Linked DNA regions of Homo sapiens: region 1 is linked to region 2. The links are contacts of gene promoters, found by promoter capture Hi-C in human tissues and cell types (Jung and others, 2019). All regions are on one chromosome and are shown on one strand. Each heading gives the region's core, a stretch centred on a gene start or on the middle of the fragment in contact. The rest is flanking DNA. Distances are from core to core; before and after follow the strand shown.

Evidence for each region. The method cuts DNA at HindIII sites, captures the fragments that hold promoters and counts their contacts. A contact is called where the count stands out against the background at its distance.
Region 1: a contact is called between the fragment with the promoter of KCTD5 here and the fragment with the promoter of PRSS33 in region 2, in 1 of the 25 tissues and cell types used here (adrenal gland).

What each region holds. Positions count from the first base shown.
Region 1 is chr16:2,680,127-2,684,185 of GRCh38, forward strand. KCTD5 (potassium channel tetramerization domain containing 5) reads left to right here and starts at 2,397. Exons shown (of 6, transcript NM_018992.4): 1 at 2,397-2,674. The coding sequence starts at 2,423. RefSeq lists a silencer at 2,480-2,659 and enhancers at 2,755-3,365, 2,910-2,959, 3,030-3,079. The HindIII fragment of the contact is 14,940 bases long and covers 1-4,059 here.
Region 2 is chr16:2,784,951-2,789,184 of GRCh38, forward strand. It overlaps PRSS33 (serine protease 33), which reads right to left and starts at 2,610. Exons shown (of 7, transcript NM_152891.3): 1 at 2,583-2,610; 2 at 1,552-1,654; 3 at 1,139-1,171; 4 at 849-1,011; 5 at 425-696; 6 at 52-221. The coding sequence starts at 1,597. The HindIII fragment of the contact is 27,852 bases long and covers 1-4,234 here.

The sequences.
Region 1 (4,059 bases), core at 1,147-3,646, 110 kb before region 2:
ACCTTCAGGTCTTAGTGGTTCACAAGAGCCCAGCAGCCAGGCTGGCTTTTTCATTGTAGGGCGTGGTTGTCCCAGCTGGTGTAGATTTCAGGCCGCCTCCCCCCATCTCCCTGCCCACAGTGTTGCAGATTGCCTGGCTGGCAGCAAGTCCAGACCACCCAAATTTGGTTGGATTCTTCATTTCTCCACTGTAGTTGGGGTCCATTGATTGTGCAGGGGAACGTGCAGGAGGTTTTTCTAGGCACTGCGTTCAGTGCTGCTTCACTCTACCAGAGATTATGGCCAAATTGCACGGAATTTGGTTTCTTGCCCTCTGAAGCCTGAGGGCCCCCCCTTGCCTGGCTGGTTGACAGACCCGGGGTGCTCACTGCTGAGACTTCAGAGATCGCAGCTGCTGTGAGAATACGGTGAAGGTACTATGTTCTGGAAGATGTTGTCATACACTTTTCCCCAGTTATTTTCAAACTTGACATGAGCCTATGTTGACTCACTGGGTGGGGTCCCTTCTTACGCAGCACACGTGGCAAGTGCCTGAATCGGGGCTGGAGGCACTTCAGAGCCTCTGAGGGGCCACCACTTCTGGCCCAAAATTGCAGGGTTGTAGATGAGGCTGCCTGTGGAGAACTGGTGTGAGGAGGAAGCTGTTTCCAACAAAGAGCACTTTCATCTGTTGAGATGGCTGTGGTGAGCAACTGAACGAGCCTACGTGTGTACCTGAATTTTCCCCATAACTCATTTCTTCCATATGAAGAAACACCAAACTATGTACAGAGAACTTTTTACAAAAGGCAGACCTTTTTTAAGCTGTGTAACCCACATAGCCTAACCGTCTGGCAGAATGACTACGAATAGGGGTCATTGTGCTGGTAAAAGCCTCTATTACGACTGTTAAGTTGGATGTTGGCAAAATTAAATTGTTACAGTATTTAGAGCTGCTGTAGCTGTTCCTTCACAACATGAAATAGGATAAATGACTAGTACGTCTTTCAGGTGGGTGGCAGTCAGAACATGCGTAATATTCTCTACCTGGTCTGTAGCTGTAACTGTGATGTACAGACAAAGCAAAAATTAAAAGAACTCATGAAAACAAATAATACAATGGTATTAGGATATACACTTTTGTGTTTTTAATCTTATAGAAGGTTATTTGCTGGCTATTGTTGGCCTCTAGTTCAGCCTGTTATTTAAATTCTTTTTTTTTCTTGAGACGGAGTCTCACTCTGTCGCCCAGGCTAGAGTGCAGTGGCCTGATCTCGGCTAACTGCAACCTCCGCCTCCTGGGTTTAAGCAATTCTCTGCCTCAGCCTCCGAGTAGCTGGGATTACGAGCGCCCACAACCACATCTGGCTAATTTTTTGTATTTTTGGTAGAGACGGAGATTCACCATCTTGGCCAGGCTGATGTTGAACTCCTGACCTCGTGATCCACCCACCTTGGCCTCCCAAAGTGTTGGGATTACAGACATGAGCCACCGCGCCCGGCCTAAATTCTAATATATGAATTATTTGTATTGAATTCATGTTCGGGGCCACGTTGTTATATGTATTGATATACAGCCTTGAATGTGAATAATTACTATATATTTTACAACTTTTTTCTGGCTTTATTACAAAAACTTTCTTTTTTTTTTTTTGAGACAGACTCTCGCCCTATCACCAGGCTGGAGTGCAGTGGCGAGATCTCAGCTCACTGCAACCTCTGCCTCCCGGGTTCACGCCATTCTCCTGCCGCAGCCTCCCGAGTAGCTTGGATTACCGGCGCCCACCACCGCGCCAGGCTAATTTTTGTATTTTCAGTGGAGACCGGGCCTCACCATGTTGGCCAGCGTGGTCTCGATCTCCTGACCGCCTGATCCTCCCGCCTCGGCCTCCCAAAGTGCTGGGATTACAGGCGTGAGCCACCAGGCCCCGCCCTTATTATATAAATTTTCTATTGGGTCAATGATTTAATCATATAATTTAATGAATCTGTTCTTTTTTTCCCCCCAAATATTTGTGCTTTAGGTGTAGTTACCAGATGATGAATTTTCCTCCTATGCTCCGTAGTCTTGTAATAAAAAGCATGTACAGTGTAGACGTTTGCTGGCATGGCTCTTCCTTTGACCAGTTCATGAACTGGAGTCAGGGTGGGGGTGAAGGCTAGGGTCGAGGTCTGGGTCAGGCGCTCGTGCACCGCTCGTGGGAGGTCGAGGCTGATGTCCGCTGCTCCCCATCAGCGTTAGTGCCCAGATCACCCCGTGCTCCGCTCCCGCCGGAAGCGGGCCCAGCCTCCTGCTTTTCGGGACCGGAACTTCCGCCTACCGCGTGACGCCGGGGCGGGCGCTCTACCAGGGCGGACCTGTGGGCGGGACAGAACTCAGAGGACGCTATTAAAAGCCGGACGCTTCCGGTGGAAGGGAGCTGTTGCGGGGCTTGCTGGGATCATGGCGGAGAATCACTGCGAGCTCCTGTCGCCGGCCCGGGGCGGCATCGGGGCGGGGCTGGGGGGCGGCCTGTGCCGCCGCTGCAGCGCTGGGCTCGGCGCCCTGGCCCAGCGCCCTGGCAGCGTGTCCAAGTGGGTCCGACTCAACGTCGGCGGCACCTACTTCCTCACCACTCGGCAGACCCTGTGCCGGGACCCGAAATCCTTCCTGTACCGCTTATGCCAGGCCGATCCCGACCTGGACTCAGACAAGGTGAGGGCCTCACGGGCCAGCCCGGAGGGTCCTGGCCTTCCCGGCCTGCGGCTCCTGCACACGCCCTGCTTCGTGCGGAGGAGACTTCAGCGGGAGCGGGCGACTCTCCTCGGGCTTCGAGCCCCGCGCTCCCTTGTCGCCAGCTCCTCCCCAGCTTGCCCCGATCCCCTACCCTGGGAGGGGAGGGTGAGGATGGCGCCCTGGCGTCCACTGCCTTTGAGGATCCTGAGTCGATTCACCTTGGGGGTGTCTCTTCCTCGCCCTCTTTGCTCTTTGGTGGAGGAGGCTTCCTAGACCCCGGACTTTGCTGTGATTCTACTTTCTTTTTCTCACTAGGTTCTTTTGCCCAGGGTGTGTGAACGCCTTCTCTTCTCTGTCCCAGGGTACTTGCTGGCTCTGGAAACAGAACCCTTGGCGTTGTTTCACATTCTGGACGTTTGAATTAACGCTGACGTGGGGGTTGATATGGGCGGCCCTTTTTTTCCCTGGTGACTTGCATTTAGAGAGTTGGCGCTCCATCCTTTCCATCCACAGCACGCAGCACCCACTCAGCACCTCTTAGAAGATGCGTCCGTAGTATATAGTATGATTTTTCGAAGGGGATTTTGCTCATATTAAGGGTTGCTTTAGGGATGTCCAGGAAGGGTCAGGTAAGGAATCTTTCAATCTGCTTTCTAATTGGCTTAGTTTTCCCACTGTCTTCGCAAAAGGACAGGAATTTCCAGGTTAGTTTGCAGCTTGTCTTTCATCAAGCGAAATGCTCATGCTGTTGGGTAGATGGTAATAGAAACCTTTTGCTACCTTTATTTATCAAGAGTTGTGGAGCCGAGGAACCGTGTCTTGGGAGTTGTGCAGGATTGAAACTCACAAAAAAGCCTGTTTGAAGAAGTTGTTACCTATATTTATTCAAGGCAGTTCACAAGCCTTATACTAACTTTGCGGGGTCTTTCAGTTGAGCTTACATGACTGCGCTTGGCTTTGTGCCTTGGCAGCCAACATTTGCCATGCAGGAGGCTTCCCAGAAAGGTTCGGATCCCTCTTCAAGTTTGAGAAGCCTGACTGAGACCATTCTCAGCATGGCATGACCGTGATCAGGAAGTGAGAATCTGGAGTTACTGCTAAGGCAGCCTTGTGGGTGGAAATGAGGGTTTGAGATGCCAACCCTCCTGTGCCTCCCCACAACTTCCAACTGTTTCCATTGCTCATTTGACCAAGCCCTCTACTCAGAGAATTGACCTCCCAGGAAATGACAGTCATCCCCAGGATAGAAATAGGCGTTTGTTAGCTGTGATTTTCCTTTTATAAGTGTGGGTGTATGTTTTACTGTTTGGTTTTTCTTTTTAAATAACAGGGCTTAGTGGTCACTCCCTTGCCTTTCTACTCAA
Region 2 (4,234 bases), core at 1,360-3,859:
GTGCTGGGCACAGGGAGGGGACTCCGGAGGCTGGGGAGGCTGGGTGCACACCTGGCAGGCGTCCTTGTGGCCCTGGGGGTAGCCGGCACACAGACTCCCAGGCAGCACAATGCGCTCAGCCTGGGGCACGTCCGCGCCCACGTGGTAGAGGCCGTCGCAGGTGCGCGAGTCCAGCAGCGGCACCCTTACTCCTTGTAGCGGTCGCCACTCTGGGAGGGGCACTGGGGGAAGAGGAGGGACCTCTGAGAGGAAGGCGTGGAGCGGGGGCCAGTGGGAGAAGCTGAGCTCTGAGTGAGAGGAGGTTTTGTTCCCTAGAAGCCGCGCTGGGTCCTGGATTGGGGCAGTGAGGGGCTGGGATTTCCAGTCAGATGGAGGAGGACGTGGGGGCTCCCGGATGCCTCGGAGCCCCGCCCTCCTGCCTTACCTCCTGGGCGGAGGCTGCCCCAGCCGGTGACCCGGCATGGTGTGCCGGGCGGCGGGCGGGCGCCGGGCACGGGCAGGCAGACGGGTTGGACGCGAGCGCTCAGGGGCACCGGGCGACGCAGCTGCAGCAGTGCCAGGTCGCCGCGGGCCCCGTCCTCGGAGTAGTCCGGGGGCAGCAGCACCCGTCGCACGGGCACCGAGAGCGTGCGGGGCGAGGTGGAGCCCAGACGCAGCGCCCCCAGGCGCACGCGGTACTCAGCTGGCAGTGCCCTCCTGCAGGACAGGAGCGGGGGACTACTTCCAGCACCGGGTCCTCGACCCCCTCCAGCCCGCCTCGACCCCAACGCCTCTGCCAGGCCACGCCCGGTCCTCTGCGGGCCTTGCCTTCCTTGCACACCCCGCCTGGGCCCTCGGTGAGCGCTGACCTGGGGAAGCAGTGCGCCGCTGTCAGCACCCACTGGGGGGCGATGAGCGACCCCCCGCACACGTGTGCCCCACGATGCTGGATGCTCGCCTGCCACGGCCACTCTCCGTCCCGGCCATCCCGGCCCCCAACGATCCGACTGGACATGCGGGGCTGCCCGCAGGCTAGAAAAGGACCAGGGGCGGTGAGGGTTGGCTGAGGACCTGGGGCCTGGGAGGCAGGTGTTGGTGGGGAGACACGGGGCCGAGGTCCAGGAGGGGCTGACTCGGGTGGACTCCGAGGCTTCCTCACCTGCAGACTTCCTTCCCTGAGTCCCAGCAGCTCCTGGAGGAGGAAGCAGGGAAGGGACCAGATTATAGATTTGGTGTCAAATAACGGAGTTGGAGGGGAGGCCAGAGATGAGGAAGGAGGGTGAAACAATGTTGCCCTGACATTGCGCCAGGCTTTCGTGCCGTCTGTTATCTTATTTAACCCTCCCCAGAGCACTGTGAAGGTGCAGGGGGCAAGGGCGTATGAGCATGACACCGACAAGCACATCGAGGTGTGGTGAGGTCAAGGTCAGTGGCAGAGAGGATTGAGCCCTTGGAATCAAGATTAGAAAGCCCAAGAGTGCTCCAGGGAGCCCGGCCCAGGGAGCAGTGAGATGGGAGAACTGGGAGCCAAGGTGTCTGCGGCCCTCACCCCCAGTCCCTGTCCCCACTCACCCAGCACCAGAAGGAGCAGGACCTGGAGACAGGAAACCCCTCTCATTCTGTCTTCAAGGCTGGGCTGGGTAAGGGTGGCACTGCCTAGGGCTTGGACTCTGGTCTGGAGCCAGCAGGGAGAAGAGAGGAGAGTCCTGGCCCAGGGGCACCAATCCTCACACCAGCCCGTCACCCCCTCCGTGGTCCTTCTGTCTGTCCTCAGCTCCTGGTGGGTTCTGGACTTATCCTGGTGGCCCAGGCTGTATACCCTTCGTTCTGCCCAGGGCCCAGGTATGCAGCACCCACCACCCAGATATTTGGGCATCCTTGGTCTCGACAGAAGCCCTGGAGCCTAACCCCCCTCGGTCATCCTCACTCCCTCCCTCATCCCCCTCCCCCATCCTCACCCCCTCCCTCATCCTCACCCCCTCCCTCATCCTCACTCCCTCCTCCATCCTCACCCCCCTCCTCCTCACTCCCCTCCCTTATCCTCACCCCTTCCCTCATCCTCATCCCTCTCTCATCCTCACCCCCTCCCTCATCCTCACCTCCTCCTCTATCCTCACCCCGTCCTCCATCGTCACCCCTGCTCCTCCTCACTCCCCTCCCTCATCCTCACCCCCTCCCTCATCCTCACCTCTCATCCTCACCCCTCTCTCATCCTCACCCCTCCCTCATCCTCACCCCTCCTCTATCCTCACCCCCTCCTCCATCCTCAGCCCCCTCCTCCTCACTCCCCTCCCTCATCCTCACCCCCTCCCTCATCCTCACCCCTGTCTCATCCTCACCCCCTCCCTCATCCTTCACCCCCTCCCTCATCCTCACTCCTCTCTCATCACCCCTCCTCCATCCTTCACCCCCCCATCGTCACCCCCTCCCTCATCCTCACCCCCTCCTCTATCCTCACCCCCTTCCTCCTCACTCCCCTCCCTCATCTTCACCACTTCCCTCATCCTCACCCCCTCCCCCATCCTTCACCCCTCCTCGTCCTCACCCTCATCCTCACCCACTGGCTGCCCCTGCAGCCCCCACAGCCCCTGGCTTGCTCTCACCCTCACAGCCTGGCGCCTTCTGCTGACTGGGGTTGAGGGAGGGCCTGGGGGCTTAAAGTGCCAGGAGAGCGCGAGGCTCAGCCAAGGAGTAATGAACAGGGCCGGGGCGGGGCTGTGGCTTTACCGGACCAGCCTCAAACAAAGATGCTTTGAGCAGAGCTTCAGAGGTGGCAGGAAAGGGTCAATGGGTTTCTCAAAGGAAGCCTGCCTTGCGCCAAGGTACTAGAAGTGGGGGCTGGCGGAGAGCAGTGGTGCGGGTAGGTGCTGGGAGGGGTGGCAGTCAGGTGGGGAAGCTCTGCAGGATCCGGGGCAACTCCTCTCCAAACCTGACCTGGGCTCCCTGCAGAGCACACGTTGCTGGAGCTTCTGCGCTCCATTGTTCTGTCCAGAAATCCCATCTCAGACGGAAGTCCTGGCCAGACAGCTCCACCCAGAGACCCCAGCATGGCCAGCCCCCTTCCAGATCCGGGGTCTGGAGCAGCTGGAGGTGGAAAGGGACTGGTTCAAAGTTGGTGGCACTCCTTACTTGACCAGAGGCAGGGGGAGACTTGACCTTGGGGACCAGTGCAGTCTTTGGTTTGGGGTGGCCGAGACAGAGCAAGATGCTGGGGTCAGGGGACAGGAACTCCCCTTCTCTCGAGGCCCGTGGAGGACCGGGGCCCGGATGGTCCAGGGCCCTGTAGTTCCCTCTTGGGCTCATACACAGTGTTCGCTGCCTAGAAGTCTCTCAAGTCCCTCTCTGCATAGTGAACTCCTCTTATCCCTCAGCCTTCTGCTCTGCCACCTCCTCCTGCCTCCTTTGCAGCCCTGCCATAGTTGTACTTTTTTCCTTTTTTTTTTTTTTGTTTTTCTTTCTTTTTTTTTTTAAAGAGACAGGGTCTTGGCCAAGCATGGTGGCTCATGCCTGTAATCCCTGCATTTTGGGAAGCCGAGATGGGTGGCTCATTTGAGGTCAGGGGTTTGAGACGAGCCTGGCCAACATGGTGAAACCTCGTCTCTACTAAAAATACAAAAATTAGCCAGGCCTGATGGTGGGCGCCTGCAATCTCAGCTACTCGGGAGGCTGAGGCACAGGAATTGCTTGAACCCGGGAGGTGGAAGTTGCAGTGAGCCGAGATTATGCCACTGCACTCCAGCCTGGGCGACGCAGTGAGATTCTGTCTCAAAAAAAAATAAAAAGGGAGAGAGAGACAGGGTCTTGCTCTGTCACCCAGGCTGGAGTGCAGTGGTACAATCACAACTCCCTGCGTCCTTGACCTCTGGGCTCAAGTGATCCTGCCACCTCAGCTTCCCAAGTAGTTGGGACCACAGGTGCATGCCACAGCACCTAGCAATTTTTTTTTCCAGAGATGGGGTCTTGCAATGATGCCCAACTTGTTCTCGAACTCCTGGGCTCAAGAGATCCTCTTGCTGTAGTCTCCCAAAGTGCTGGGGTTATAGGCATGTGCCACCGAGGCCAGCCCATAGTTGTCCTTTGACAGGGACTTGAGGAGGTTTGATTTACATCCTCTTGTCTCCCCTCCAGCATCAGGGTCTGGGTCTGTGTCCCTGTAGGAGTCCGCTTGGGCTGCCATAAACAAAAACCACAGCCGAAGGGGCTTTCTTTTTTTTTTTCTGAGACAGAGTCTTGCTCTGTCTCCAGGCTGGAGTGC